Regions from separate parts of the Homo sapiens genome. Here all the other regions are linked to region 5. Evidence: promoter capture Hi-C in human tissues and cell types (Jung and others, 2019). All regions are on one chromosome and are shown on one strand. Each heading gives the region's core, a stretch centred on a gene start or on the middle of the fragment in contact. The rest is flanking DNA. Distances are from core to core; before and after follow the strand shown. Region 1 holds the start of COQ5 (coenzyme Q5, methyltransferase). Region 2 overlaps CAMKK2 (calcium/calmodulin dependent protein kinase kinase 2). Region 3 overlaps P2RX4 (purinergic receptor P2X 4). Region 4 overlaps GATC (glutamyl-tRNA amidotransferase subunit C). Region 5 holds the start of SPPL3 (signal peptide peptidase like 3).

Region 1 (4,072 bases), core at 1,523-4,022, 380 kb after region 5:
AACAATTAGCCGGGCGTGGTGGCGCACACCTGTAGTCCCAGCTACTTGGGAGGTTGAGGGAGGACAATCGCTTGAACCTGGGAGGCGGAGGTTGCAGTGAGCTGAGATTGGGCCACTGCACTCCAGCCTGGGTGACAGAGCGAGACTCTGTCTCAAAAAAAAAAAAAAAGAAAAAAAAAGGAAAATCATGTATGTGGCCAGGCAAGGTAGCTCAATCCCAACATTCTGGGAGGCTGAGGCAGGAAGATCACTTGATGTTAGGAGTTTGAGACCAGCCTGAACATAGTGAAACCAATTCTCTACTAAAAATTAAAAAACAAAAAACAAAAACATATGGTTTACAGATATAGACGCTAAGACTTTGGGAATCATACCACACCTATTTGTACTTTGGAAAATTACAAATGATTCCCTTCCAACCATAGTAGTTTGAGATTCAAAAGATCACATAGACATGCTATTAAGGAAATGACCAGGGCCAGGTGCGGTTGCTCACGCCTATAATCCCAGCACTTTGGGAGATTGAGGTAGGCAGATTGCCCAAGCCCAGGAGTTCAAGACCATTCAGGGCAACATGGCAAAACCCTGTCTCAACAAAAAATGCAAAAATCAGCCCAGTGTGGTGGTGCACACCTGTAGTCCCAGCTACTCAGGAGGTTGAGGTGGGAGGATGGCTTGAGCCTGGGAGGGTGAGAAGTGAGCTATGATTGTGCCACTGCACTCCACCCTGGGTGACAAAGTGAGATCCTATTTCAAAATAAAGAATGAATCAATAAATAAGTAAATAAGACCAGCCTAGCCAAAATGGTGAAACCCCATCTCTACTAAAAATACAAAAATTAGCGCCGGGAGTGGTGGCTCAGCACTTTGGGAGGCTGAGGCAGGTGGATTACCTGAAGTCAGGAGTTCAAGACCAGCCTGGCCAATATAGCGAAACCCCATCTCTACTAAAAATACAAAAATTAGCCTGGCATGGTGGCGCATGCCTGTAATCCCAGCTACTAGGGAAGCTGAGGCAGGAGGATCACTTGAACCCAGAAGACAGAGGTTGCAGTGAGCCGAAGTCATGCCACTGCACTCCAGTCTGGGCAACAGAGCAAGACGCTACCTCAAAAAAAAAATACCTTCCAACAGTCCTTGTCCTACTTCACTTTTTACAGGTTTTCCTCCACATATCATATGAAATAAGAGAACAGTGAAATACTGTTGGTCTGGATACTTAATCTGATGTGCAGAAGGAACAGCCCTAAATCCTGAGATCCATTCTTTTATATAACTAGATATGGAAGATATAAGATTCTTTGATGAGACTTTATTTATTTATTTATTTATTTATTTATTTATTTTTGAGATGGAGTCTGGCTCTGTCACCCAGGCTTGAGTGCAGTGGTGCAATCTCAGCTCACTGCAACCAGTGACTCCTGGGTTGAAGGGATTCTCCTGCTTCAACCTCCTGAATAGCTGGGACTACAGGTGTGCACCACCATGCCTGGCTGATTTTTGTATTTTAGTAGAGACGGGGTTTCACCATGTTAGCCATGCTGGTCTCGAACTCCTGACCTCATGCAATCCGCCCACCTCGGGCTCCCAAAGTGTTGGGATTACAGGCGTGAGCCACCGCACCCAGCCACTTAATTTCTTTTAACAAAGACATGAGAATTATGAATACATGGATGAATCATTTCGCCCTTGTATCCTTCCTTTTTTTTTTCTCATCACTATACCAACGAGGACCTTCTATCATTCTTAAAATAAAAGAGAAAGAAACAGAAATCCCAGCGCAGTACTTCCCAAACGAAAGCGGTTAGGTGTCCATCTGTCAGGCTATATTAAACCAGGAAGAGAATTTTCATTTCAAAACAGTTTCTTCTATTGGCGCTTTCTCCTCGTGAAATATTTACAGGAAACATACATTTAAAATGGAATGAAAGCAGAAACATACAGTAATCCAAGCAAAACTCAACAACGTCCGTTCTTTATTTTGCACAAGACGGTCTGCATTACCCTTGCCATTAAAAAAAGACTGAAAATCTGGGGCTGAAGTAAAACACCCATGACATGCCACCTGGAGCTAGGAATGTAGCTTTGTGTCAGCAGGAGACCAAGTGTGAGTGGTGGTTCTGGCTTGCTAAGTGGATACCAGAGCTTTCGTTCCCATTTATGAGCTTCCTAGGTTCATAAAACGGACAGAACAAAGAAGTCTGTCCTATGTTTATTTTTCAGAGTAGTGTAACATATGTTTCTCAAGAATGGTCTGCATCTTTAGCATCAGAATCGCCAGAGAAATTTGTTTAAATAGAGATTAAAGGGATATAGGTCAGATCAAAATCTCTGGTAGTTGGGGACCCAGGAATCTTCATTTTAAAACGTAAACCAAGTGATTCTTACGCTCAACAAAGTGTGCAGGAATTGGCCCGTGATCTTGGCTTTTTAACCACACCATGCCTCAATTTCCCCCTTCTGCACAAGACAACAAGAGTTCCTGGATATCTTGCGAGTTAGTACTTTTCTGCCTAGCCGGATTCAGAGACATGGCCGCTAAGAGGTGACCCGGGGCTCCCCTGAGATCCCCTGATTCCTGGTGAATTGTAAATTCAATTTGAGAAGAGAGAGAGGAAGGGATTTCCGATACTTAGAGACCACCCTTTGGATCCTAGAGATAATGCCGGCACAACTGTGTATCAGATTTCAGGGCGCGTTCGGCTAATAATGTTGCCGGCCAGCCGCCGTCGTTCGTGGAGTGACGCAACAAGGCGTACTCTCTGGCCGTTGTCACTCGACTACCAAGATGGCGGCCCCCGGGAGCTGTGCTCTATGGAGCTATTGCGGCCGTGGGTGGTCGCGGGCGATGCGGGGCTGCCAGCTCCTCGGGCTTCGTAGCTCTTGGCCCGGGGACCTACTAAGTGCTCGGCTCTTGTCCCAAGAGAAGCGGGCAGCGGAAACGCACTTTGGGTTTGAGACTGTGTCGGAAGAGGAGAAGGGGGGCAAAGGTGAAAGGGGCGAGAGGGCGGATGGGAGGGATCTGACCGTCCATGGTCTGGTTTCTTCTGGCCAGTTAGGGTTGATTTAACATCCAATTAGTTCCAGTGTTGTTGTCTGTGCAGTTATGATTTTTTTTTTTTTTGGAGACAGAATTTCGCTCTTGTTGCCCACACTGGAGTGCAATGGTCCGATCTTGGCTCACTGCAACCTCCGCCTCCCGGGTTCAAGCGATTCTCCTGCCTCAGCTTCCCGAGTAGCTGGGATTACAGGCGCCCGCCAGCACGCCCGGCTAACTTTTTTGTATTCTTACTAGAGATGGGGTTTCACCAGGCTGGTCTCGAACTCCTGACCTCAGGTGATTCGCCTGCCTCGGCCTCCCAAAGTGCTGGGATTACAGGCGTGAGCCACCGCGCCCAGCCAGACGCCCCCTTTTTAAAAGCAGAATACTGATGACTAAATCCCATCAACTGAGCGTTTGTGATGTGCCAGGCAACGTACAGACATTATTTTCAATTCTCATTTTCAACATTCCAGTAGTGGGTATTGTTATTACCATATTACACGTGAGGAAATTGAGACTTAAAGGTTAAGCAAGAAGTTGCCCAGTTGAACATATCAGTAAGTGGCGGAACCAGTATTCAAACCCAGTTTAATCTGAGTCTGAAGCCCCCGTTCTTTACCTCTAGAGAAAAATAGGGGTTTTTTTGGTTGTTTTTATTTATTTATTTATTTATTTATTTATTTTGAGACGGAGTTTCGCTCTTGTTGCCCAGGCTGGAGTGCAATGGCGCAATATGGGCTCACTGCAACCTCAGCCTCCTAGGTTCAAGCGATCCTCCTGCCTCAGCCTCCTGAGTAGCTGGGATTACAGGCATCTGCCACTGTGCCCTGCTAATTTTTGTATTTTCAGTAGAGACGGGGTTTCTTTTTTTTTTTTTTTTTTTTTTTTTTTTTTTTTTGAGACTGAGTCTCTCTCTGTCACCCCCAGGCTGGAAGGCAGTGGCGCGATCTCGGCTCACTGCAAGCTCCGCCTCCTGGCTTCACGCCATTCTCCTGCCTCAGCCTCCCGAGTAGCTGGGACTACAGGGGC
Region 2 (3,882 bases), core at 1,156-3,655, 350 kb before region 5:
TCTCATTGTGGGTGTATGATTCCAGAACAACAAGCAACCCCAGAGTCATCCTCCACTGGATTTTGAAATCGACTGTGCTCTTTTTTTTTTTAACTTCCTAAAGTACAGCCTTGTATTCCAATTTATGCTTGTCATAGCAGAATCAAATTAAATAACTATACCACGTGACCCAGAAATTCCACTCCTAGGTATATACCCAAAAGAACCAAAAACAGATATCCACACATGAACATATCCATGTACACGAACGTTCATTGCAGCACTTCCCAACAGCCAAAGAGTAGAAACAGTCCATATGCCCCTCAACAGATGAATGGACAAAGAAAATGTGGTCTATCCATACAATGGAATATTATTCAGCCATTAAAGGGAATGAAGCACTGATCCATGCACCAGTGTGGATGAACCTTAAAAACGTGCTAATGATGCTAAGTGAAAGAAGCCAGACACAAAAGGCCACATAGTGTACAATTCCATTTATATGAAATGTCCAGAACAGGCAAATCTATAGAGACAGGAAACAGATTGGTGGTGGCCAGGGGATTGAGGGAGGGAAGAATAGGGAGTGACTGCTAATGGGTATGAGGTTTTCTTTTGAGGTGATGAGAATGTTCTGGAACTAGATAGTTGTGATGATTGCCCAAAATTGTGAATATACTAAATGCCACTCAATTGCACGCTTTAAAATGGGTAATTTTATGTTACGTAAATTTCATCTCAAAGAAATTTTTTTTTTGGGACATTCTTGCTCTGTTGCCCAGGCTAGAGTGCAGGGGTGCAATCTTGGCTCACTGCAACCTCCGCTGTCCAGGTTCAAGTGATTCTTGTGCCTCAGCCTCCCAAGTAGCTGGGATTACAGGCACCTGCCACCACGCCCGGCTGATTTTTGTATTTTTAGTAGAGATAGGGTTTTGCCACGTTGGCCAGGCTGGTCTCGAGCTCTTGACCTCAGGTGATTCGCCCACCTCGGCCTCCCAGAGTGTTGGGATTACACTGGCGTGAGCCACCGTGCCCAGCCCCCTGCCGTGTTTTCTTTGACCAGTGGATCCTGGGCCAATTTGAGCACTAGAAGTCAAGCCAGACTGTGGGCCTGGGGACGTCAGAAATCCCTGGTTCTTTGCCTTCTGATGGAAATTTAGCAAAGCAGGACCTTGGCCAGCTTGGTTCAGTGGACTGTTCCTCTCCCCAGCTCTAATACTAGTTTCTGTCTTTCTTGGTGTTTCTGGAGGTGGTTGGGAGGTGGGGAGGACAGAGAGAGATGGATGTTCAGTTTCCCATGTAACAGTTTCACCCTTTTCTTCCCTACAGTGTTCGAACTGGTCAACCAAGGGTGAGTGTCCCAGCTCCCAGCAGGGGTGATGCAAGAAGCTTCTGTAGCTGCATAGCTGAGTGAGGTGCCACTGGGCTCTGCTCATGAGAGAGGGCAAGGGCTGGCGGGTCTGCTTTGTGTTTCACATGAGTGTCGACCTTTCAGGCCCGTGATGGAAGTGCCCACCCTCAAACCACTCTCTGAAGACCAGGCCCGTTTCTACTTCCAGGATCTGATCAAAGGCATCGAGTACTGTGAGCAGGGCCTGCGGGAGGGCTCTCACCCAGTGGGTAGTTAGCATTCTGAGCGTGGGTGCAAAGTGGAAAGTGTCTTATTTTCTTCCTGGAGCACAGGGAGGTGGGCGGGTGGATTGGGGTCCTCTAGAGGGACAGAACTAATAGGAGATACATATATATATATAAAATTATATATATAAAATTATATATATAATTATATATATAAAATTATATATAATTATATATATATAAAATTATATATAAAATTATATATATAATTATATATATAATTATATATATATAAAATTATATATATAATTATATATATATAAAATTATATATATATAAAATTATATATATAATTATATATATAAAGGGGAGTTTATTAAGTATTAACTTACACGATCACAAGGTCCCACAATATAGTCTGTCTGCAAGCTTGAGGAGCAAGGAGAGCCCATCTAACTCTCAAAACTAAAGAACGTGGAGTCTGACGTTTGAGGGCAGGAAGCATCCAGATAGGAAAAAAACATAGGCTGGGAGGCTAGGCCAGTCTCACCTTTCACGTTTTTCTGCCTGCTTTATATTCGCTGGCAGCTGATTAGATTGTGGGTCTGCCTTCCCCAGCCCACTGACTCAAATGTTAATCTCCTTTGGCAACACCCACACAGACACATCCAGGATTAATACTTTGTATCCTTCAGTCCAATCAAGTTGACACTCAGTATCAACCATCATAGTGGGAAACAGAATTGTGTGAAATGCAGAATCAGGGCCAGCTGCAGAGAGCCACCCTATGGCCATGGTCCAGGCGAGCCAAAACCCTTCTTCCTGCCACTTGGCAAAATGAAGAGCAGTAGCAATAGTGACTATTTAGCACTTTCTATGTGCACCAGGCACTGTTTGGGGCTCTATTTTTTTTGTCTCTTATTCCTCCCAGTGACCCTGGGATCAGGGTCCTGTTCACCTCCTGGAACCTTAGCTTCCTCATCTGTAAAATGGGGATAACATATCTCTCACCAGGGCTGAGATCAGCCAGTACACATCAGTGGTTTGATTGGCAGGTGTCCTTTCTGCTTCTGCTTGTTAAACATCTTAGCTCTTTTTTTCCTTTGAGATTCTTGCCCTGTTGCCTGGGCTGGAGTGCAGTGGCGCGATCTCAGGTCACTGCAACCTCTGCCTCCTGGGTTCAAGCAATTCTCATGCCTCAGCCTCCCAAGTAGCTGGGACTACAGGTGTACGCCACCATGCCCGGCTAATTTTTGTATTTTTTGTAGAGATGGGGTTTCGCTATGTTGGCCAGGCTGGTCTTGAACTCCTGACCTCAGGTGATCCCCCTGCCTTGCCTCCCAAAGTGCTGGGATGACAGGCGTGAGCCACCGTGCCCGGCCACCACGTTATCTCTTATCCCTGCCTGTCACATAGGATGGTTGTGAGGTTTAATTAAATGTAAAATGTGAATGTGAAACACAACGCAGGGCCGGGCCCCTCACTTGGTGCTCTGCTGCTGCTTTCACTGAAATCGTCTTCATCATCATCATCACCCCAGAAATGGCAGTTGGGTCTTCCAGGCCATAGAACTGTCCTGTACCATGGGCTGATATCCAGCCAGGAGGAGTTAGCCAAGCCCCGAGTTCTGTGTGTGGTTCACATTTCAAATCGGCCTGCTCAGGTCATTGTCGGTTTGGTAAATCAGTTGAGTATTGGCTGTTGGTAAATGAAACTATGTTTCACTGTCAGTTTCACAACTAGCTGTGAGCCAAGCCCAGCAAAAACTTTCCATGCACTGTCACTTGTGACTTAATAAATAACAGGCGATTACGAATTGCTATTGGCAGTGTTTTATGTGTCATTGTTGAGAAGGGGTGGGGTGATGGTGGGCTGGGACTTCCTTGAAGACACTTTTCCCCTCATCTTTTAGAGCATGTCAGTGCCCAGCGGGTTTGGGGAGTGGAAGGTTGGAAAAGGCCTGGGGCTGTGGGAGACAAGGCATCAGAGGGGTGCCATGCCTGTGTCTCCAGGCCATGTGGCCGCATAGAGGTGCTCACGAGGTTTTCCTGCCCCTATCTCCCACCTGCTGTCTACGCCTCCCCAGTACACTACCAGAAGATCATCCACCGTGACATCAAACCTTCCAACCTCCTGGTCGGAGAAGATGGGCACATCAAGATCGCTGACTTTGGTGTGAGCAATGAATTCAAGGGCAGTGACGCGCTCCTCTCCAACACCGTGGGCACGCCCGCCTTCATGGCACCCGAGTCGCTCTCTGAGACCCGCAAGATCTTCTCTGGGAAGGTAAGCTTGGGCCTGCCTCAGCCACAGAGTTCTGCCTGTGTT
Region 3 (4,435 bases), core at 1,936-4,435, 330 kb before region 5:
CGAAGGGCAAACTGCTTCCTCTAGGGGGATTCTGAATACCTGATGCAGAATTCAGCTGGTGTGTGGCTGGGTGCAGTGGCTCACGCCTGTAATCCCAGCACTTTGGGAGGCTGAGGCGGTGGATCATGAGGTCAGGAGTTCCAGACCAGCCTGGCCAACATGGTGAACCTCTGTCTCTACTAAAAATACAAAAATTAGCTGGGTGTGGTGGCAGATGCCTGTAATCCCAGCTACTTGGGAGGCTGAGGCAGGAGAATTGCTTGAACCCAGGAGGCAGAGGTTGCAGTGAGCCGAGATCATGCCACTGCACTCCAGCCTGGGCAATAGGGCAAGACTCTGTCTCAAAAACAAAAAAACACAAACATTTAGTTGGTGTGAAGCTGCAGCTGGAAATAGCTTCATGAACATTTCGAACCTGTGCGGAGCTAGGTATGCGTGCTGCTGCTTTTGGTTGGAGACTTTTGGGAAGCAAACAGGGAAGGGAGAGGAAGCCACTTCCATGTTACCAAAAATTGTGTTACCCACAGCATAGAATTGTAATTTTATGTCAAAATGGAGGCACAGGTAAGATGTCACTAGAGAAAAAGTGTCCTGTGAACTGTGCAGGAAGACAAGCTAATGACAAATTATTAGGCTTTAAAAAGTAGGCAGCTGGGTGCAGTGGCTCATGCTTGTAATCCCAGCACTATGGGAGGCTGAGGTAGGAGGATCGCTTAAGCCCAGGAGGTGGAGACTGCAGTGAGCAGTGATTGCGCCACTGCACTCCAGCCTGGGTAATAAAAAAAATAAATAGGCCAGGTGTGGTGGCGCACACCTGTAATCCAATCACTTTGAGAGGCTAAGGCAGATGGATCATTTGAGGTCAGGAGTTCGAGACCAGCCTGGCTGGCCAATGTGGTGAAACCCTGTCTCTACTAAAAATACAAAAATTAGCCGGGCATGGTGGCATGCACCTGTAATCCCAGCTACTCGGGAGGCTGAGGCAGGAGAATCGCTTGAACCCGGGAGGCAGAGGTTGCAATGAGCCGAGATTGCACCACTGCGCTCCAGCCTGGGCGACAGAGTGAGACTCTGCCTCAAAAATAAAATAAATAAATAAAGAAGTAGGGGAAAATGTGCATAAGTGCCAGAAACAGACCATCCCATGGACCTTTTCTGAGCACAGTGAGCCGGAATAGTGGATTTACTGGTTGTCGTAAAAGGGTAGGAAGGAAAGTTCTAGCACATGCTATGAGACAACAGACAGGGATTAAGAAAATCACGCTTTAATGTCTGGTCCTCGATCACCTTAGCACAGCGCTTCTCTGAGGAGAAATGCCAGCTCTGCCGCATGGCTGCAGGGAATGGTCGGGGGGAAGCCTGCAGCCCAGGCCTGCTACAAGTCTAGTGACTGCAGCCAGGCGGCCTCCCCTGCCGCATAAAGTGCTTGAACAGAGCCGCCGTGCCTCAGAGGACTGGGCCTGTCCTGGAGAGAGCTGGAGACAGGAGGCTTCTGAGCAAAGCCAGCTCCAGCCCTGAAAGCCACAGCAGTGCCACTGCGTCGGGCCAGCGCTCCCCCGACAACCCCAGGTTGCGGGAAAAGCAGAGTTGACCCAGCCAAGAACAGACTGCTGACCTCCTGGGCCGAGTGGGCAAACAGATCCTGCACACAACACACAGGAGCTGCTGGGGAACCCTGAGTGCTTGTGGAGTGGAGACTCAATCAGATTCCAGAAATTTCTCTGGGGTGATGTGGTGGCCATTTCTCCCTCCTCCTCCTCTCTGTTCTTTGATGGGGCTGTGGAGAGCCCAGGTGTGGGGTAGGCCTCACTGGTCCAGCTCACTAGCAAGACCCTGCAAAGAAGGACACAAGCAGATCAAGGTGCCCCTGGGACCCCTTGTGGCAGGCGGGAGGGAGGTGCGCTCCTGGGACTTCACCGCCAGGGGTTCTCAAGTTGGTCCCAGGCCTGGAACCCAACCCTTCCTGTTCCGCAAGGTGCACTGAAGTAGTGTGTGCCCACAGGCATTCTCAGAGCATGCATTATCATCACCAACCTGAGATGTCGCTCATTGAAACGAGGCTGGGTTTAAAGAGTCAATCTAGTACAGGGGCCTAGGGATGGAGCAGCTGCTGAGAGTGGCAGGACTGCCCGGGTTAACGGGGACACCACGCCACACTGGTGCCAGCCTCTGCAGAAGGGCCTCCCCAGACAGGCCCACGCCCAGGGCTCCCACACCCAAGAGATGAGAGGCCTGTGCCTGCTGGGGGCCAGGAGGGGCCTACCTGCTCGTAATCTTCCACATATTTATATTTCTTCTCCCGATAGTAGAGTCTTTTCTTCATGCAGTAGAGGACTATGATGTCACACAGCACGGTCGCCTGAGTTTAGCATAGGGTGAGAGTGAGCCAGGATGCTTGCAACCCATCAACCCATCTTATTCTTTGCGTGCCCCTTCCTGAGAAGCCTGGAATCTTTACCGGAATGGAAAGGCACTCCCATCTCTTGGGAGAAGGCTGGGACCTGAGGGGGGTGGTCTTGGAGAAGGGAAGGTGGGAGGAGGGCTGGGGGCCAAGGGAAAGAAGGTAGGAGGGTCAAGTTTAGAAACACATCTGAGGTCTAGGGCCTAGGGCCAGGACCAGGACCCCAGCCCAGGGTCTCACCTCACCGTGAGGGTGAAGGCAGGGCCTAAACCACTCACCATGCCTAGCAGTGCCAGGCCAGAGCCGATGTTGATCATAGTGGGGATGATGTCAAATTTCCCTGCCTGCCAAGACACCGAAAAAGAAAAAAAGTGTTTCTGCAGGGGCAGGGAGAGGCCCCTTGTCCCTGCAGGGAGTGACGGAGGGGAGCCAGTGGCGGCGAGCTACCTTCCCAAACACAATGATGTCGAAGCGGATGCCATAGGCCTTGATGAGCGTGCGCTGCTCGTTGCCAGCCAGGTCTCTGTAGTACTTGGCAAACCTGAGGGGAAGGAGGATGGATCAGGGGGAGATGGCTGGGGCAGGACCTTGGGCCCTGTGAGAGAACGTTAGAGTGGAGCTGGCACAGGTGAATGGTCCACTCTGCCGGCTGAATGGACGCTGGAGCGGCTCGGGGCCTCTCCTGGCTGAGGCGGGCTGTGCAAGCAGGAGGATGCGGGGCCCACGAGGTACAGGGGCACAGGGAGACCTCCTCCTCCAGCACCAGTGTCCTCTCCTGAACCTGAACAGTTTGCTCTCAACATCCCACCTGGTACATCCTGCCTGCCTCCCTCAAGGGACCCTGACCTCCAACATCTAACAGTAAGAATGTGACCAGCCAGCATTGCAGGAGGGGACTAAGCCAGCCCCAACACAGCATCAGTGCAGGGACTTTTTTTTTTTTTTTTTTTGAGATGGAGTCTCCCTCTGTTGCCAGGCTGGAGTGTAGGGGCACCAATCTTGGCTCACTGCAACCTCCACCTCCCCAGTTCAAGCAATTCTTCTGCCTCAGCCTCCCGAGTAGCTGGGACTACAGGCGCACACCACCATGCCCAGCTAATTTTTGGATTTTTTAGTAGAGACGGGGTTTCACCAAGTTGGCCATGATGGTCTCAATCTCTTGACCTAGGGCTTTTTAAATTTATTTATTTTTTCAAAGAAACATTGATTCTGTGCACACAGTCTTCAACAACAACAACAACAACAAAAAGAACCACTCGTTCGTCACACAGATAAAGAGATGAACAAAACGTCGTCTGTCAACACAGCAGAATATGATTTGGCCATAAAAAGAGACGAGGTACTGACACAGGCTACGACATGGATGAAGCTTGAAAACATCAGGCTAAGGGGAAGGAGCCAGACGCAAAAGGCCACATATTGATTATATGAAATGCTCAGAAGAGGCACATCTGCAGAGACAGAAAGTAGACCACTGTTGCCAGGGGCCGGGGGATGACAGAAGGGTGCAGGGTTTCTTTTTGAGATGACGGAAATGTTCTAAAATCGACTGTGGTGAAGCCTGCACTTATCTGTGAATATAGTGAAAACTATGAATTCTGCACTTCAAATGTGTGAACGGTATGGCATGTGAATTGCATCTCAGTAAGACCATTTAAAAATATATGGCTGGGTGCGGTGGCTCACACCTGTAATTCCGGCACTTTGGGAGGCCGAGGCAGGTGGATCACTTGAGGTGAGGAGCTCGAGACCACCCTGGCCAATGTGGAGAAACCCCGTCTCTAATAAAAATACAAAAAATTAGCTGGGTGTGGTGGCGGGCGCCTGTAATCCCAGCTACTCAGGCGGCTGAGGCAGGAGAATGTCTTGAACCCGGGAGGCAAAGGCTGCAGTGAGCTGAAATCGCACCACTGCACTCCAACCTGGGTGACAGAGCAAGTCACTCCCTTAAAAAAGAAGAAAAAAAAAAAAATATATATATATAATGGCTATATATATAATGGCTATATATATATATACACATATATACATATA
Region 4 (4,378 bases), core at 1,852-4,351, 450 kb after region 5:
TAGCTACTTGGGAGGCTAAGGCAGGAGAATGGCATGAACGTGGAAGGTGGAGCTTGCAGTGAGCCGAGATCGCGCCACTGCACTCCAGCTTGGGCAACAGAGCAAGACTCCGTCTCAAAACAAACAAAAAGTTTAGCTCACAAAATTTCTAGCTTTCTTTCCCATCCTTGCATCAACCAGAGCCTGCCTTTAACTGGCACCTTAAGCTGACCAGGGCCAATGTCTTCTGTGGAGTCTGCTCAGAATGATTCTCCCTCAGGATATCCTGAACTGGAAGTTGGCACTTAGCAGGCTACCTGATTGCTTTTGGCTAGTCCCACTCCCAGATGCCCAGAGGGGTAGTACAACAGCTCCAAGTATTCACCTACCTGCAGAGGAGATAAAAACAGTCAACCTATCCAAGGTTCTGGATTTTACTGTCAGCCCAGAGTAATTTTAAAGCTTCTATTTAAAATATTTACAGTAGGTAGATGATGCAAATCTCTATACCAGCTGTTGTAAACTGATGGCTCACAGACTGCACCTGGCTTGCAGATGTGTTTTATTTGGCTTGGATGGTATTTTGTTTTTTAAATTTTGAATTGGTTGCTAGCACTTAAAATTTAAGAAATATCGGCGGGGTGCAGTGGCTCACCCCTGTAATCCCAGCACTTTGGGAGGCTGAGGCGGGTAGATCACCAGTTCAAGACTAGCCTGGCCAAGATGGTGAAATCCTGCCTCTACTAAAAATACAAAAATATTAGCCAGGCATGGTGGCAGGCACCTGTAATCCCAGCTACTCGGCAGGCTGAGGCAGAGAATTGCTTGAACCCGGGAGGCAGAGGTTGCAGTGAGTCAAGATTGCACTCCAGCCTGGGTGACCGAGCGAGACTCCATCTCAAAAAAAAAAAAAAAAATTTAAGAAATATCACACAAAATGTCAGGTATCCAGGTTCTCTGGAGAAATGGGTTTACATTCCTGCCTGGCAACACTGATAGGGTAGCAGCCATGCTCCTCCTGCTTTGAATGGGCACAGACTGAGGGCAGACCCTAATGGCGTTTGAATCATGTCATAGGCAAAGATGTGACAGAAACATCTGGGCTAAGGCCACACATGATAACTAAGTTGTCACAATAAGATTCGTTTTGGGAGGCCGAGGTGGGTGGATCACCTGAGGTCGGGAGATCGAGACCATCCTGGCTAACACAGTGAAACCCTGTCTCTACTAAAAATACAAAAAATTAGCCAGGCGTGCTGGTGCATGCCTGTAATCCCAGCTACTGGGGAGCCTGAGCAGGAGAATCGCTTGAACCCGGGAGGTGGAGGTTGCGGTGAGCCGAGATTGCACCATTGCACTCCAGCCTGGGCAACAAGAGCGAAACTCCGTCTCAAAAAAAAAAAAAAAAAAAAAGGATTCTTTTAGGAAAGGACTGGTTTTTTTGTGGTACCCAGCCCAAAGCTAGACCTAACAAATATTTATTCATGGTATGAATACTAGAAAGTTGGAGTCGATTACAGGATCTGGCAGGGTCTTAACTGTGGCTTTGAGAAACACTGAATGCCAGCTGCCCCTTTAGGGAGATCTTGAGCTCCAGATTTCCACCTACTTTAAACCTCCCGCATGCCCCCAATCCTGTTTTGCTTGTTCCTGTTACTAACTGCCCCCTAGAGGTGAGTATGACCCTGGACCCTACTGCCACCTTAATGCCACCATCTGTATGCACTTCATCCTTTTCAAAGTGCCTTCACATAGCATCTTTGGTCCTCATGCTTCCTGCTTCATTCCTAAGGTTACTGTGAGACTATCTGTTAAACCATTCTGGGCAGCACGTACCTGGGGGGGCCACAAAGTACTCCTCCACGACGCGATGGGAGTTTTGTAGTAATTCATCAGCACAGTTGCCTTCTACCACATTGTCGGATCTCAGGTATAGACATCTACAAAACCCAGAAGCTCAAGGTTACCCTCTCAGAGAAGGGGGCTTTTAGGGGATGATGGAGAGGGGCAAGAAGGAGAGAACAAGGAAGCAGTATATTCTTGAGTTAATGGGCACTGTTCAAAGATAGAGAAGCTGGGATCAACAGTAGACCAAATAACAGCCTACAGTTTATAGATTGACCGAACAACCCTGAGAAGTAAGTGCTAATTACTTCTCTGGATTGATTTAACAAATAGTTTTTGATGATTATATGGGCAACTGTCTTTTGGTGGGGACAGGTAAAAGCAATTACAAAAACAATATTTTAAATCTAACAGAGGTTAGTACAGCCTGCCAAAGGATAGAAAGGGTACCTAGTCCAGCCTGCGTGAGTAGCACATCCTCAGAATAGCTGATGTCACTGTTCAAGGATGGGCAAGAAATAGCTGGATTGGGGGATGAAGGTATGAGAAATGGACTTCCTGGCACGTATAGCAGCATGAATCCCAAAGCAATAGAGCCGAGAGCTCAGAGATTCAGAGAAGGACAGGGAGTTTAGCAGGCTGGGGTGTGGTCTGCCGGGGTGGAAGATGAAGCTGGAAAGCTAAGCAGAGATGGGGAAGCAAACTTGCCACAAGAGTAACTTAAGGATGTTGGCTGCTAAGTAACAACTGGGATCTCAGCCCAATCTGATACACCTAAAATGAATGCTTTTTCCACCACAGCCACTTTGGTGGATGTGCCTGCCCTTGAGCAAGATGTGCCACCAACAGCTCAAGAATCTCCCAGTGTTCTGTGGGACCTAGTGACTTTACTAAAGCCTTCAGATGGCAAACCGGTAAAAAACACACAAGAGCTTGAACATTTGCATGAGGCTTCACTATTGTTTCAAGGTGTAAAAGTGTGTAAGCCTGCTTCCAGATACTTAGATTAAAAAAATAAGCAGTCTGTTAAATCACTGATATGGTATTCGGTAGTAGCCACGCTCCTCCTGCTTTGAGTGGGCACAGACTGAGGGCAGACCCTAATGGCGTTTGAGTCATGTCAGAGAGGGACAAAGATGTGACAGGTACATCTGGGCTAAGGCTGCACATAAGAACTAAGTTGTCAGCCGGGCGCGGTGGCTCACGCCTGTAATCCCAGCACTTTGGGAGGCCGAGGTGGGCGGATCACGAGGTCAGGAGATCGAGACCATCCTGGCTAACACGGTGAAACCCCATCTCTACTAAAAATACAAAAAAATTAGCCGGGCGTGGTGGTGGGCGCCTGTAGACCCAGCTACTTGGGAGGCTGAGGCAGGAGAATGGCGTGAACCCGGGAGGCGGAGCTTGCAGTGAGCCGAGATCGCGCCACTGCACTCCAGCCTGGGCGACAGAGCGATACTCTGCCTCAAAAAAAAAGAGAACTAAGTTGTCACAATAAGATTATTTTAGGAAAGGACTAGTTCTTTTTTTGTGGCACCCAGCCCAAAGCTAGACACAACAAATATTTACTCATGGTATGAATATTAGAAAGTTGAAGTCTGTTACAGGACCTGGCACATTCTTAACTGTGTGGCCTTGAACAAGTATGATCTTTTCAGACATTAAATTTCTTGGAGGGGGGCGGCGGGGTGTGGGGGAGAAAGGCCAGGTGTGGTGGCTCTTGCATGTAATCCCAGCACTTTGGAAGGCTAAGGCGGGTGGATCACCTGAATTCAGGAGTTCAAGACCAGCCTGGGCAACGTGGGGAAACCACATCTCTACTAAAAATACAAAAACTAGCCAAGCGTGGTGGCACGCACGTGTGATCCCAACTACTCGGGAGGCTGAGGCGGGAGAATCGCCTGAACCCAGGAGGCGGAGGTTGCAGTGAGCTGAGATGGCACCACTGCACTCAAGCCTGGGCGACAGAGCAAGAAGAAAAAAAAAAAGGCCAGGCACAGTGGCTCAAGCCTGTAATCCCAGCACTTTGGGAGGCCAAAGCAGGTGGATCACCTGAGGTCAGGAGTTCGAGACCATCCAATATGGTGAAACCCTGTCTCTACTAAAAATATAAAAGTTAGCCGGGCATGGTGGTACATACCTGTAATCCCAGCTACCTGGGAGGCTGAGGCACAAGAATCACTTGAATGTAGGAAGCAGAGTTTGTAGTGAGCGGAGATCACACCACTGCACTCCAACCTGGGTGACAGAGTGAGACAGTGTCTCACACACACACACACAAAAGAGAGTTGTACTAGATTTTTTTTTTTTTTTGAATAACACAAGGACTGTATTCATTTAAGAAAACTTGGGAGAACAAAAGTAAAATAAAAATCATAATTATACTATTCAAAGGTAACCCTTGGACTTTCTGGAGTTTATAGTTTCTGTTGGACAGTATTAAAAAATGGCTAAGAGGCCGGGCGCGGTGCCTCATGCCTGTGATCCCAGCACTTTGGGAGACTGAGGCGGGCAGATCACGAGGTCAGGAGATCAAGACCATCCTGGCTGACAG
Region 5 (3,862 bases), core at 392-2,891:
AACAGGGGGGTGAAGGGTGGGGGTGGAGGGGTGTCCAGGAGGGTTAGTGTATCTGTTGCCCAGGCATGTTTCTAAATTCTGAAGCTGCACTGGTTAATCATTTTTATTCATGAACACAGTAACTGGCAAGGAGGCTTAGCTGGGCCCTCAAAGTCTGGCCTCAGTGCACCTTCTCAGTATATTTTCTCAACACTCCAGCACAAATCACCCATCCCACTCTCGGATTCAAGCTCACCAGGAATTGGGCCTTACTTCATGCCATTCTTTCTTTCTAGAATGCCTTTTCTTTTTTTTTTTTCTTTTTCTTTTTCTTTTTCTTTTTTTTTTTTTGAGACAGAGTCTCGCTGTTGCCCAGGCTGGAGTGCAGTGGCGCAATCTCGGCTCACTGCAAGCTCTGCCTCCGGGGTTCACGCCATTCTCCTGCCTCAACCTCCTGAGTAGCTGGGATTACAGGCGTCCACCACCACGCCCGGCTAATTTTTTGTATTTTTAGTAGAGACAGGGTTTCACCGTGTTAACCAGGATGGTCCCGATCTCCTGACCTCATGATCCACCCACCTCGGCCTCCCAAAGTGCTGGGACTACAGGCGTGAGCCACCGCGCCCGGCCAAAAGAATGACTTTTCTTTGATAAGCCTCTCACCCTTTCAGACGGCCTCATCCACTCCTGGGGAAGCATTCCGCAGTACCTGGGGCCTCAATTAATCTCTCTCTTCTCTCTCCATCTAAGCTCCAGATTCACTTTGTTGGTCTCTGGTCTAGCTCTACCGTGTTTATTTCTGTGCCGGTTTCCAGACCTCCAAATGGACGGTTTCCTGAGCCTTCTGCCCTTGCTGTTCCCTCTGCCAGGAACTCTTTTCCTGTGGATCTTTGCAAGGCCAGCTCTCTGTCATCATTCAATATCAGCTCAAATGTCACCTCCTAAGCGAGGCCTTCCTTGACCACCCTATCTAAAGTAACCCACACCTCTGCTCACTCTCTGTCCCCTCACCTTGTGTTACAAAATGTGTTTTTGTAAAACTTAGCAGCATCTGAAATTATCTTATTTGTGGGCTTGGACTATGTCTCTTCCTTTAGAATGTAAGCTCTAGGAAGGCAGAGTGAGTTGACACATGGTTGGCACCCAACAAATATCTGTTGATTGATTCTGTGAAGGCAAGCGTGGGGTATTCGACTTGGTGCCGGGCCTGGGCGCAATAAAGGTTGGCTGCCTGGAATATTTGCTACCTGAATGAATGAACCAAGGAACATACGAACGAAGGAATGCAGCCCTCTGCCTGTTGACTGACAGGTTGACTGACAGTTGGGGGGCCCGTGGCCAGCAGACTGTTGACTGACGGTTGACAGCTGAGTGGCAGCCAACAGACGCGCATCGGGGTTCCCGATTGGCTGGTGCAGCAGCCCCTCGGAGAGGGGCGGAAGAGGGTACCCGAGGCGACATCTCCGCGTGGGGAGGGGGGCGGCACCAGGCAGCGGGAGGCGGCCCAACTGCTCTGGCTGTGCGAGCAGCAGCCGCCTAGAACCCAGGAGCCGACGTCTCTGCGCATGGGCCCGGCTCGAGGGGCGGGGCGCGCATCACGTGAGCGTGTTTTGGGCACGTGACCCGCGCGGGGCCAAGGCTCGCCCCCGCCCCCGCCCCTCCTCCCCTCGGCGGGTGTGATCGAGTGGCCTCGCCTCATCGCCTAGCGCCCCCCTCAGTCGCCGCCGCCTCCGCCCGCCGGCCATGTCCCCCGGCCGCCGCCGCCGCCGCCCGAGCGCGGCGCTCCCGCGGCCCCGCGCGCAGTGAGCGCGGGCCCGTCTTGCCGTTCGCCCGCCCCAGGGCCCCCTTGTTCTCCGCGCCGCCGCCGCCGCCATGTTGGGTTTGGAGCTGCAGCGGAGCCGCCGCCGCCGCCGCGGGTGAGGGAGGCCGAGAGCGGAGCCCGCCCCGCCCCGGGGCCCAGGGAGCGGGGCCGCTTCGGAGCCCGGCCTCTCCCCGCCAGCCGCCTTCCCGGCCCGCCGTGCAGCCAGCGAGCCAGCGAGCGAGCAAGCAAGCAAGCACCGGACCCCGGCCGCGCCTTCAGCTACGGCCCGAGCGAGCCCGCCGCCGCCGGGCCCGGCCACAGCCTGCAGCGGAGCCCACGAGAGGCAGCGCCATGGCGGAGCAGACCTACTCGTGGTGAGTGCGGGGCTCCGGGAGGCCGGGAGGCGGCAAGGGTGGGGGTCGGGGCGCCGGCGCGGCCCGCCGAGGGGAAGAGGAGGAAGAACAGGTGCGTGTCGTGGGGGGGGGGCGCGGGTTGGGGTGCACGCCCCCCTCTTCCCCACCGGAGGGGGCGGCTGGCGCGCACGGAGGGCGGTGAGTGGCCGGGGACCTGGCGTCCGAGAAGGGGAATGGAGGAGGAGGCAGCGGCGGATGTCATCTGGCTATGGGCGGAGCAGGTGATGGAGAAGGGGAGCATGACCCCGGGGGTGGGAATCCCACGGATGGGAAGTTGAATCCGACAGGCACCCCGGAACTGACTCGTGGGGGTGTTTCCTGGGCAGGAGGACTCGAAGGGGTGGAGAGAGGCAGGCCAGGGCAAAGGTGGGCCGCTGGGCTGAGAGGAAGCTCTAGTGAGAACAGGTGATAGAGGCAGAACTTCTAAGTTGGGAGAGTGGAGCGGCCGCCGCTTGGCTCTGGGACAGGGAGCGCAGGGAGAGTTGGTGAGGTGGGCAGAGGCCCGGGAGTGAGGGGAGGAAAACTGCGGGGGTAGAGTCCACGAACCTTGGAGGGGAGTCACTGGTGAAGAGGTTGGAAGAGGAGCCTGAAGAACCTGTTTCCTTTTCCTTCTGGAAAAGGAATTCGTTGGTGACAGTGGGGCATGGGCAGAGTCTTTGTAAGGGTTGGTACTATTATTTTCAGAGGAATGGCGCCCAGGGCCAAGTGTGGAGGTGGAGGACCTGCAAGTTAAGTTCATTTCTGTGGGGCTTTTAAAGTTAGTAAGTAGCTCGTTAAGGGCCGAGAAGCGAGAAGCTACTGTGTAGTTTATGGGGTGACAACCTACATATCCGGAGAAGGGAGTGCCAGGGTTTGGGGGAAGGAACATGAGGGGTCTCCCTTTAGCATGTAGAGGTGGGATATTTGCAGGACGGGTTGAAGGAATGATGGCAGTATCCATGAAGAGTGGAAATCGGGTAGTGAGAAGGAAGTCATAGCTGGAGAGTGAGGAAGCAAGAAATGGCATGATCGTAGGAGTGGGGGACCTGATTGCAATTTAGAGAAATGGTTTGAAGATGGTTTACTCTTGAAGCAAATGTGGTTTGGGACAGAACTGTAGACATTCCCTTCTTAGAAAAGAGCATAATAGAATGGGACGAGCATGCCGTGTGGAGTTGGAAGACCTATTTCGGAGGTCCGGTTTGCCACCAACTTGCTTTGTTGATACGACATGGTAGTGAGTTCTTCGGTCCTTTTTCCTTACCTATAAAATAGAGGGAATTACCTTTTCCACAGCCTGTAAGGATTAAGTGAGTACATTTAGAAAGCACTTGGCAAACTGTGAAGTGCCACAGATCTTACTACATTAATTATAATTATCCTAGAGAAACATCTAAGAAATGGGTAATATCAGAAAATAAGGAATGGTTTTAGGTAGAAGACTTTGAGTGGATTATTTATAGTGTTAGAGGTTATAAGTCAGTAACTCATTGAGTCTTCACATAAGAGAAAGGGAGTTGGGGATTGAAGATGATAATTCTTAAGAGAACTTCATTGATGTATGTGCAATCTCAAGAAGAAGGTAACTGAGAGACAAAGTAACCCTAAAGGAAGAATTAAAATCTTGGTGAACACGTGCTCTAAAAAGAGGTTTAAGCTAATTTCATAGTTTTGCGTGACAGCTGCCTTT

Evidence for each region. Contacts are between HindIII fragments. The study calls those that stand out against the background at their distance.
Region 1: the fragment with the promoter of COQ5 here is called in contact with the fragment with the promoter of SPPL3 in region 5 in 1 of the 25 tissues and cell types used here (dorsolateral prefrontal cortex).
Region 2: a contact is called between a fragment that was not itself captured here and the fragment with the promoter of SPPL3 in region 5, in 1 of the 25 tissues and cell types used here (dorsolateral prefrontal cortex).
Region 3: a contact is called between a fragment that was not itself captured here and the fragment with the promoter of SPPL3 in region 5, in 1 of the 25 tissues and cell types used here (hippocampus).
Region 4: a contact is called between a fragment that was not itself captured here and the fragment with the promoter of SPPL3 in region 5, in 1 of the 25 tissues and cell types used here (hippocampus).

Annotation. Positions count from the first base shown.
Region 1 is chr12:120,527,858-120,531,929 of GRCh38, reverse strand. COQ5 (coenzyme Q5, methyltransferase) reads left to right here and starts at 2,772. Exons shown (of 7, transcript NM_032314.4): 1 at 2,772-2,990. The coding sequence starts at 2,789. RefSeq lists enhancers at 2,436-2,895, 2,242-3,011, 3,012-3,782. The HindIII fragment of the contact is 25,598 bases long and covers 1-4,072 here.
Region 2 is chr12:121,253,231-121,257,112 of GRCh38, reverse strand. CAMKK2 (calcium/calmodulin dependent protein kinase kinase 2) reads left to right here. Exons shown (of 17, transcript NM_001270485.2): 8 at 1,309-1,330; 9 at 1,475-1,563; 10 at 3,641-3,840. Among named protein-coding and RNA genes, the nearest start is that of CAMKK2, 42 kb to the left of the region's middle. RefSeq lists an enhancer at 1,020-1,520. The HindIII fragment of the contact is 4,173 bases long and covers 319-3,882 here.
Region 3 is chr12:121,230,921-121,235,355 of GRCh38, reverse strand. P2RX4 (purinergic receptor P2X 4) reads right to left here. Exons shown (of 12, transcript NM_002560.3): 9 at 2,849-2,942; 10 at 2,680-2,745; 11 at 2,264-2,359; 12 at 1,250-1,833. The coding sequence ends at 1,807. Among named protein-coding and RNA genes, the nearest start is that of P2RX4, 23 kb to the right of the region's middle. RefSeq lists an enhancer at 987-1,614. The HindIII fragment of the contact is 4,980 bases long and covers 696-4,435 here.
Region 4 is chr12:120,454,617-120,458,994 of GRCh38, reverse strand. GATC (glutamyl-tRNA amidotransferase subunit C) reads right to left here. Exons shown (of 4, transcript NM_176818.3): 3 at 1,816-1,919. Among named protein-coding and RNA genes, the nearest start is that of GATC, 10 kb to the right of the region's middle. The HindIII fragment of the contact is 8,224 bases long and covers 1-4,378 here.
Region 5 is chr12:120,902,137-120,905,998 of GRCh38, reverse strand. SPPL3 (signal peptide peptidase like 3) reads left to right here and starts at 1,641. Exons shown (of 11, transcript NM_139015.5): 1 at 1,641-2,154. The coding sequence starts at 2,132. It overlaps XLOC_009911 (a long non-coding RNA gene), which reads right to left and starts at 1,304. Exons shown (of 2, transcript NR_131215.1): 1 at 1,227-1,304. RefSeq lists silencers at 1,442-1,801, 1,882-2,101, 2,242-2,291. The HindIII fragment of the contact is 15,749 bases long and covers 1-3,862 here.